Regions from separate parts of the Homo sapiens genome. Here all the other regions are linked to region 2. The links are contacts of gene promoters, found by promoter capture Hi-C in blood cells and fetal thymus (Javierre and others, 2016). All regions are on one chromosome and are shown on one strand. Each heading gives the region's core, a stretch centred on a gene start or on the middle of the fragment in contact. The rest is flanking DNA. Distances are from core to core; before and after follow the strand shown.

Region 1 (3,218 bases), core at 227-2,726, 430 kb after region 2:
CCCCGTGCCTGACCCCGGCCCCTCCGCACAGGCCCCCGCCCCGGGTCTGGCTCAGCTGGTTCCTCAGATGTCCCTGGGCGGCCTGGCACCTTCTCTGAGGAGCCCCCGGGTGAAATTCCCCCAAAAACACACACTCTAGGCCCACGCGTGGTCATCTGTGGTTCCAAGGGCCTCGCCTGGCCGAGCCGAGAGCTGGGGCACCCGGCACCTGAGGGTTGGAGGGGTGACGGACCCGGGGCTGCCTGCAGACCCACGTTTCAGGGGCTCCTCTTGTGTGGATCTCCTTGGAGCTCCCGGGGCTGGGCCTGGGCTGGGGTAGGGCGAGGTGGGGGTGTTGAGGGTGGTCTGGTGGCCAGACCTGGGATCTGGGGGACCTGCTGCATTACCTCTTGAGGACTCCCTAAGAAAGGACCCCGTGACTCTGCACCAGCTCAGCCCTTCCTGCAAGCAGAGGGGCTGTGCAGAGCTGGGGGCTGGTGAGGGAACCAAGCAGGGGAGAGGGGCACCCATGTCTGCTTTGCGCCTTCCACGGCCCCTTGAAGTCTGTCTGGAAGCACCCGGCCTGGGCTCACCCCATCCTGTCACTTTCCCTCCCAGGTCAACCCCTCCTCCTTCCCACTCCACAGTGATCCGGGGGATTCAGCAGCTCAGGCAGAGTTGGGTGCTGCCAGGCACGTGCCCTCTGCCCACCCCCACACACCCCAGACTCAGCTCCCTGCCCCCCATGCCCTCGGAGGAGGCTTCCCTGACACATTTGGGTCCAGGAGACTGAACCAGACGTGTCCACCCCGGCCTCAAGGCCTTGGCCCAGGCCAGAGGCAGCCCCACCCCTAGGGCCTCCGAGATCCTGCGGACCCCAAGGGACAGGCTGAAGGCTCTGCTCCCCCAGCCCAGCTCCATCCTGGGTTCTGTCTCCTCCCATGAGGCCACGCCCTCTGGCTCCGCCCCCACAGGGAGCTGTTAAAAATGGCCTCCCTCTTTCTGAGCCTTTGTCACGTGCGGGCTCCCATCCTTCATGACTGCTTTCACAGCCTGAGGCGGAGCTCACACACGGACGGACGGCTCACCCACTTATGGGTGAGTTTTCAGTGCACCCAGCGGTGCAGCCGTCTCTGCAGGTCTCGCTCTGTCGCCCAGGCTGGAGTGCAGTGGCACAATCTCCACTCACTGCAGCCTCGACCCCTCAGAGTCAAGTGATCCTCCTACCTCAGCCTCTCGAGTAGCTGAGATCACAGGCACCACCACCACACCTGGCTAATTTTATTTCATTTTTTTTTTTTTTTTTTTTGTAGAGACGGGGTTGGGTCTCAGTATGTTGCCCAGGCTGGTCTCAAATTCTTGGGCTCAAATGATCTTCCTGCCTGGCCCCCATAAAAGCTTGGATTGCAGCTTTTATGGTGGTGTCAACTGTCACCGCCCTAAAATAAACCCCTTTCTGTGTTAGTCTGTTTCGTGTTGTTGTAAAGGAATGCTTGGGACTGGGTGATCTCTAAAGAAAAGAAGTTGATTTGGCTCACGGTCCTACAGGCTGTATAGGAAGTACAGCGCAGGTATCTGCTTCTGGGGAGGCCTCAGGAAGCTTCCAATCATGGCAGAAAGGAAGGAGAACCCAAAAGTCACATGGAGGGAGAGGGTGCCAGGGAGAGGAGGAGGTGCCAGCTGCTGTGTGAACTACTGGAGCAAGAAAGCACTCATCATCACTGGACAGCAGCAAGCCACTCCTGAGGAATCCGCCCCTGGTGCAGACACCTCCCACCAGGCCCACTTCCAACCCTGGAAGTCACGTTTCAACATGAGATTTGGAGGGGGGGCCACACATCCAAACCAAACAAACCCTCTGCTTGCTAGACGTCTCCCCTCCCCCACCCCCCCTCCCCCAGCCCTTGGCAGCCACCCCTCTTTGTTCTATGGATTTACCTGTGCTGAAAATCTCATCTAATGATCCTATGATGTTTGTCATTTTGTGTCTGGCTTATTTCACTTGGTGTGATGTCTTCAATGTTCATCCACGTGTGTCAGAATGTCATTTTTTTTGAGACAGAATGTTGCTCTGTTGCCCAGGCTGGAGCGCAACGGCGTGATCTCTACTCACTGCAAGCCCCACCTCCCGGGTTCAAGCGATTCTCCTGCCTCAACCTTCTGAGTAGCTGGGACTACAGGCGCCCACCACCATGCCCGGCTAATTTTTGTATTTTTAGTAGAGACAGAGTTTCTCCGTGTTGATCATGTTGATCAGGCCGGTCTCAAACTCCCAACCTCCTGATCTGCCTGCCTCAGCCTCCCAAAGTGCTGGGATTACAGGTGTGAGCCACCGCGCCCGGCTGTGTCATTCCTTTTCATGGCTGAATAATATTCCACCATATGAAGAGGCCACATTTTATCTGCTTATCTGTGGGATACTTGGGATGTCTACACCTTTGGCTTTTGTGAACGATGCTGCTGTGGACACCCGAGTCCACAGTTCTGTGTGGACACACATTTTCATTCCTCTTGGGCACACCCGGAACAGAAATTGCCAGGTTGCATGGTAATTCCATATTTAATCATTTGAGGAACTGCCTGTTCATGATCACTTTTTATTTGATGAAGCATTGATTTTCCAGAGAAGGAAATTTAAGGCTCAGAGAGGGTAAGACACATGTCCAAGGCCACACAGCCAGGAAGTGGTGGAGCTGGCATTTGAACCCAGGCCGTGCGTCTGCAGAGCCAGAGAAAGGCCCGGAGCTTCCCTCCCCAGGTCCCCAGGCGGCCTGCGGGCCCCTCCACAGCCCAGTGATCCTTCAAGCACTCCCAAGCCCAGCCTCCGCCTGCAGCCCCTCCACAGCCTGTCCAGGGCAGGGAAGGGCCACCTCACAGGCCACGGCCTCTTCCGCGCAGTGCCTGGGGGCCGGTCTTGGGGACAGTGGCGTGGTGCCCCTGCCTCTCCCGTCTTCCACACAGACAACTGCGAAGGTGAGAAGGGTGAGCGGCGTCTAGACGGCGCTGTCCACCCAGCGGCAATAAAATCGGATGTTTCCGCACACAGCACCGTCACAGGCTATCACCGTTTAACACGGCAACTCTTAAAATCATTGCTGCTGCGTCTAAACCGTCCTGAGCTCACAGCTGAGCCCAGGAAAGGGCTTGGGGTGCGCGCCAGCCGGCAGCCACCAGGCTCCCCATCCCACAGTGTGGGGTCATGCTTCCCGCCCAGCACGGTCTCGAGGGTGGTGGATCCC
Region 2 (3,118 bases), core at 233-2,732:
GTCTCAAAAAAAAAAAAAAAAATGGACCCACTGCACTTGCTTGTCCACTCAGCTGCAGACAGGCCTTTGGGAGTCTTCCACCTTTTGGGGATTGTGATGGCTACTTCTGACCTGCACCTCGCCCAGAGCAAGGGGCTGGCCGAGCCCAGTAGGCGCCTTGTTCCTGTTTGGCCTGGGAGGGCCCTGGGGTTGAGGGAGGGCCTGGTCAGTGGGATCCAGCCTCCCACTGCCACTGAGCCATCTGGCCTCATCTGTCCGACTGCCACTGGTGAACTCATCTGTCCACCATGAGTTTCGAGCGCCGGGTGGCAGGAGGTTTGGGGGCAGGGGACGGAATGTTCACATCTTCAGGCTGCACAGTCTATGCTGGTCCTTGCAGTCCCCGGCTAAAGCTTCTGTCGTCCGTAAGGGGTTCAGTATGTAGTGGGACCCCTTTGCTTGTGCCTTAGGCCTTCTGTGATCTGACCTGTCGTCCCCACCCACCACCCATGCCCTGGGGTTTCACTGGGCTGCCAAGAGCTCCTTCCTCAGGCCCTTGACCCAGGCTGTCTGCTCTCCCCCATTCTCTTCCTGTCCACCTGGCCAGCCACTGCCCACTTCCTCCCATCAGGCCAACTCAGCAGTCCCGGATGCTGGGAATCCCACACTGCTCCAGCCTGAGGCTACAGTGTGTTTGCGAATCGCCTGTTTCTGCTTGTTTCATCTTGGTGGGGGCTGCTCCTGTGGCCCAGGGGTGTCCTCCCAGCTCCTGTGTCTCCACGTGCTGCAGGCCTGCAGGGGTGCCCGTGGCTGCTCCATTCACGCCCCTCCAGGAGCCCCGTCTGGCCCGGGGTCGGTCATCCGGCAACTATGGGGTGCCGCTAGGTCTGAGGAAAGGGGCCTAAGCCTGCGGGCTGCGCGCTCTTCAGCAGGACCCCCTCCTGCAGACGGCCTTACCAAAACCCGAGGCCTGGCCCCGCTCCAAGGCGCAGCCCCCAGGCCAGGCCTTCCCCGCCTCTGGAGTCATGACCCCTCTCCTCTGGGGCTCCACCGGCCTCTGGTCAGCAGGACCGGACCTGGTTGGGAGGGATGTGGCCAACAGGCCCAGGTCCCAGTGTTAGGAAGGAGCAGGCCCGGCCGCCCGCGAGGCGGAACCACCAGGTGGGCCACCTTCCCTACCGCCACCCCGAGGTTCCAGTGGACATCAAAACCTCGGCTCCATCAGAGGCTCCAGGACTCCGATCGGGACAGCGCGGGGGGCGAGGCCAGGGTGAGGGCGCGGCGAAGGAGAGACGCACAGCGCGGGGCGGGCAAGGAGCCTCCCTTCCGCGCCAAGGCCCCCCCCAACCCTCGAGGCGCTTGGACCGTGGGATAGTCCTCCGGCGGCGCCCGAGCTCCGGCCCCGCCCCCGCTCCGCCCCGCGCCTGCTATTGGCGGAAAGTTCCGGGCCGCGCCGCGACTGGCCGACACGCCGCAGGCCCCGCCCCCTTCCCGACCCGCTCCAAGGCGGCCCCGGCGCTGGGGCTGCGCGGCAGGCGGAGCGGCCGCGGGCTTGGGGGCTTCGCCGGGGCCGGGCGGCCGGCGCCCCCGGCTGCTCCCGCCGCCGCCCGGACCCGCGCCCCGCCGGGGCAGCGGTGGTGAGAGCCCCGACTCCCCGGACGCCGCCCGCCGTGCCATGGGGTTCCCGGCCGCGGCGCTGCTCTGCGCGCTGTGCTGCGGCCTCCTGGCCCCGGCTGCCCGCGCCGGCTACTCCGAGGAGCGCTGCAGCTGGAGGGGCAGGTACGGTCCGGGGGGCTGTCCCCGCACTTAGGACGGGGTGCGCTGCGGCTAGGACCCCCCAGGCGCCCCTCGGAGCGCGCAGAGCGCTGGGCCGGTTTCCCCATCCGCGAGGCGGCCTCGGGAGGGAGCGGGGGCTGCGCCGGGCGGGGACCCGCCCCCGTCTCAGCGCCCCGTCCCGTCCTGTCCCCAGCGGCCTCACCCAGGAGCCCGGCAGCGTGGGGCAGCTGGCCCTGGCCTGTGCGGAGGGCGCGGTTGAGTGGCTGTACCCGGCTGGGGCGCTGCGCCTGACCCTGGGCGGCCCCGATCCCAGAGCGCGGCCCGGCATCGCCTGTCTGCGGCCGGTGCGGCCCTTCGCGGGCGCCCAGGTCTTCGCGGAGCGCGCAGGGGGCGCCCTGGAGCTGCTGCTGGCCGAGGGCCCGGGCCCGGCAGGGGGCCGCTGCGTGCGCTGGGGTCCCCGCGAGCGCCGGGCCCTCTTCCTGCAGGCCACGCCGCACCAGGACATCAGCCGCCGCGTGGCCGCCTTCCGCTTTGAGCTGCGCGAGGACGGGCGCCCCGAGCTGCCCCCGCAGGCCCACGGTCTCGGCGTAGACGGTGAGTGGCGGTCTGGTTGGGACAGGGTGGGAGTCCCGAAGTCTTACCCTGCCTGGGCTTGGCGGGAATGTGCCTTGTCGGCCCCACTGCAGAAGGAAAAAGTGAGCTACAAGGGTTGGATGGGCTTGTCAGGCCACACAGCCTGGGACTGCTGGGGAGGGATGGCCTCCCCGCCCTCCCTTCCCGATTCATCTCTGGAAAGAGCTGGCAGGGGCAGAGTGGAGGGAAGGGGAGGCCGGGCCCAGCAATCCTGGGCCTCTGGTCCCTGAACGGTTGGGGGAAGAGATGGTGGGGACAGAATCGAAGCCTCCGGCCAAAGCTGTCCGGGGCTCCCTGGCCCAGCGGTGACCTCTCTCCCCTCCCCCAGCCCAACCAACAAAAGTCCAGTGTGCAGCCCGGTCACCATGGAGACGCCGCTCGCCTCCCTGCAGGGCACCAGGCCCAGCTCTTGCTTGGCTCTCCTGGAGCTTGGCGCCTGACCCTGAAAGGGATGGGCTCTCGCTATTCTGCCCCCTGGCCCTGGGCCAGGGACCCCAGACCACCCTTCCTCTGCCCCCACTTCCTATCACCCTAGCTGGGCTGCTGCTCTTCAGACCTCAGATCCGGGAAACTAGAGGGGTCCCAGATGCTGGGGTGCATATGTCAGATGGGAGTGCAGGAGGGCGGCCCAGGACAGCTGATCGCTAGGCATGGCCCCCAGGCCCACGTCTGTGTGCATTCCTGCCTTGGAGGTACGCGCCTGCAAGTGTGTTTCCTGAGTACAGGTGTC
Region 3 (3,218 bases), core at 452-2,951, 400 kb after region 2:
TGTGACTCAGTTTACCTGCCTGAAGGCCGGGGGCTGGGGGGCGGTGCAGGCAGCTGTGTGCCTCTCCAGGACTCAGGGCCCTTTGCTGGCCTTCAACAGCAGTTGGCATCCTGGCCCAGCACCCAAGACGCCCCCACCCACCGTGGTCTGGAGCTGCTAAGTGGAGTCTCTGAGGTCCATGGTATGGGCGGGGTCCAGACCCCAGCCTCTGAGGCTGCATGCAGGGCCCAGAGCTGTCACAGACTGTGCCCTGAGCTGCCCGCTGCAGAATGGAGACCAGGACAGTTCCTCCCTCCTGGGTGTTTGCGGGTGAAGCAGGAAGGTGTGCAGTTTCCTCCAGGGAAAGTCCTGGGCGTGCTTGGTGGAGGGAGAGGAGGCTGGGCACGCAGGGCCAGGTAGGGTGACGGTCCCACAGGCTCCCCATCCGAGGTCCCCCCGGGGCTATGCTGGCTCCCTACCTGGGGAAGTCCCAGGCCGCGGGGACAAGCCCGACGCCGTCCCATTCACCTTCACCACCCACCCGGAACCGGCCTTCCAGATACGGCCGAGTTAAACCACGTTCAGAGGGAGCCATAAAACTCCAGGGTGAGATGAGATCACACGCTGATCCTGACTGCAGATCCCGACTGCAGCGGGAAGATAAATGTCTGAGTGTTGAAGGGATTGGAGGAATCGTTGGAAGCAAGATGGATGGTCTCATAGATATGAAAGTGACTTCACGAAGAAACTTCTGCCTGGTGGAACGGAGTGGGACAGAGAGGAAAGGGCAGGGGAACAGGGGCAGGGGGCTGAGGCCCAGGCAGGTTCTGCTGCAGCCCACGCCCACCCGCCAGCACGCAGGGAAGCTTGACTTTCCTACCTCAGCTGTGCCAGCTGCCTGCAGTGCCTGGGCCTTCCATCCATAAGTCAGTGACAGTGAGGGCATGGCCTGGGAGTGAAGGTAGACACAGAACAGTGCCCGACAGGCGGCAGGTGCCTGAGAAGCATTTGTTATCATCGTCACTATCATCACTGTTTTTTTGTTTTTTGGTTTTGTTTTTTTCTGAGATGGAGTCTTGTGCTGTCGCCCAGGCTGGAGTGTAGTGGTGTGATCTCAGCTCACTTCAATCTCCGCTTCCTGGGTTCAAACAATTCTCCTGCCTCGGCCTCCTGAGAAGCTGGGACTATAGGCGCCCACCATCACGCCTGGCTAATTTTTGTATTTTTAGTAGAGACAGGGTTTCACCATGTTGGCCAGGCTAGTCTCGATCTCCGGATCTCATGATCCACCCGTTCAGCCTCCCAGAATGCTGGGATTCCAGGCGTGAGCCCCCGCTCGCGGCCACCGCTATGGTTTTATTCTGGTGTAAATCACGTAACAGAAACCTCACCGTTTTAACTGCCGTAAAGCGTGCAGTGTGGTGGCGTCTGGCACATTCGTAGCACTGTGCAACCATCGCTGCCATCTGGTTCCAGAATCTTTCGTTGCCATCCCCAAAAGGAAGCCCTCAGCCCATGCGTGGTTACTCCCATCTCCCCAGATGCTGGGAACCGCAACTCACTGCTCTGAGCACAGTGTGGAAGAGGAGTCTCAAGCATGTGGTCCTCTGTGTCCCGCTCCGCCCTGATGTGGTGACTTGAGGCCGGTCCCCTCTCCTGGCTGAGTTGTGTTTGCACTGTGGAGACTGTGAGCTGCACTCTGGTAATCATGTCTGTGCACGTTTTTGTCTGAAGACCCGTTTTCAACCCATTTGGGTATATCATTATTATTTTTTTGAGACAGGGTCTCACTCTGTGGCCCAGGCTGGAGCACACTGGTGCAATGGCGGCTCACTGCAGCCTCAAACTCATAGTCTCAGGCGAGTCTCCCATCTCAGCCTCCCAAGTAGCTGGAACTACAGGCACCTGCCACCGCACTCAGCTAATTTTTATATATTTTGCAGAGACAGGGTTGCCCAGGGTGGTCTCAGACTTCTGAGCTCAAGAGATCCACCCACCTTGGCCTCCTGAAGTTCTGGGATTACAGTCGTGAGCCACTACACTGGGCCAATTATTTTTAAAATCCTGCTAAAACCCACCTGAAAAGCCTTAAAGACCGTGACTTTCAAAACATGGGAATGGACCCCTGGCAACGTGAGAGGGCAAGCTCCGCCTTCCTGGTGTCTTTTTTTTTTTTTTTGAGACGGAGTCTTGCTCTGTCACCCAGGCTGGAGTGCAGTGACATGATCTCGGCTCACTTCAGCCTCCACCTCCCAGGTTCAAGCAATTCTCTGTTTCAGTCTCCTGAGTAGCTGAGATTACAGGCACCCACCACCACACCTGGCTAATTCTTTTGTATTTTTAGTAGAGACGGGGTTTCACCATCTTGGCCAGGTTGGTCTTGGACTCCTGACCTCATGATCCACCCACCTTGGCCTTACAAAGTGCTGGGATGACAGGCATGAGCCACCGTGCCCGGCCGGTCCTGCTTTCTAGAAAAAACTGTAGTGCGCGCTCCAGAGACGTAACCCGTTCCCACACCTGAGTGGGCAACTCTAGCCTTTGAACACAGCCCTAGGAAATGACTGCAAATGAGGGGGAAGCTTTTTAAATACAAGGAAAAAGGCATTTGTACCAAGCTACATCGCAGTGAAATTATCATTGGAAAACAGTGGAAAGAGGCTGTGTGTCCCCCCACGGGTCAGGCGCAGTCCCAGGGAGGTCTAGACCCCAAGAGCAGAGAGGCCTACGGGAGGCACGGCTTGTGCCAGGAGGTGGGGTATGCGGCCACCAGGCACTCTAGTTACACAGCGATGGGCTGAAGGCTGTGCATCCCGCAGGGAGTGAGCCCTCCGACCCTGGAGGAGTTCAAGCAGCTGCTTGTCAGGATGCAGCGACAGGAGGGACACCGTTGCAGCCGATGCCCGAGACAGCCAGAGGCTGCCGGCATCCAGCAGCAGAGAGGCTGGGCCTGGAATGGACCCCCAGAAGCTGGCCAGAGGCCTGGCAGTTGGGAAAGGCTCGGTCGTCCTGGGGAGGGAGCAGCACCAGCGGAGGCCCCGCCTGGGTCTTCATCAGAGACACTCCAAGCTGGTGGGGGATTCCTGGGACAGTGTCACCCCCGGCAGGCCCCAGGTGCCCACCGCCCACCCGGCCACAGTGGGAGCAGCTCGGGTCAGGGAGGCCGGGCTGAATGCAAACCACTGCTGAGGAGACAAACGCGGCGCCACGAGCAGGTCAGGAGAGAACTCCCTCCCGCG

Evidence for each region. The method cuts DNA at HindIII sites, captures the fragments that hold promoters and counts their contacts. A CHiCAGO score of 5 or more calls a contact.
Region 1: a fragment that was not itself captured here is called in contact with the fragment with the promoter of METRN in region 2 in 1 of 17 cell types (naive CD4 T cells); the score reaches 5.2 in naive CD4 T cells.
Region 3: a contact is called between a fragment that was not itself captured here and the fragment with the promoter of METRN in region 2, in 3 of 17 cell types (naive B cells, naive CD4 T cells and total CD8 T cells). The highest score is 6.8, in naive B cells.

Annotation. Positions count from the first base shown.
Region 1 is chr16:1,145,662-1,148,879 of GRCh38, forward strand. No RefSeq gene overlaps it. Among named protein-coding and RNA genes, the nearest start is that of CACNA1H, 5.8 kb to the right of the region's middle. RefSeq lists an enhancer at 1-102. The HindIII fragment of the contact is 202 bases long and covers 1,376-1,577 here.
Region 2 is chr16:713,636-716,753 of GRCh38, forward strand. METRN (meteorin, glial cell differentiation regulator) reads left to right here and starts at 1,483. Exons shown (of 4, transcript NM_024042.4): 1 at 1,483-1,758; 2 at 1,949-2,349. The coding sequence starts at 1,655. RefSeq lists enhancers at 499-1,097, 1,696-2,293, 2,294-2,891, 2,892-3,118 and silencers at 1,242-1,551, 1,652-2,081, 2,182-2,241. The HindIII fragment of the contact is 3,687 bases long and covers 391-3,118 here.
Region 3 is chr16:1,109,260-1,112,477 of GRCh38, forward strand. LOC107984906 (a long non-coding RNA gene) reads left to right here. Exons shown (of 2, transcript XR_007064936.1): 1 at 1-3,218. Among named protein-coding and RNA genes, the nearest start is that of C1QTNF8, 15 kb to the left of the region's middle. The HindIII fragment of the contact is 1,716 bases long and covers 844-2,559 here.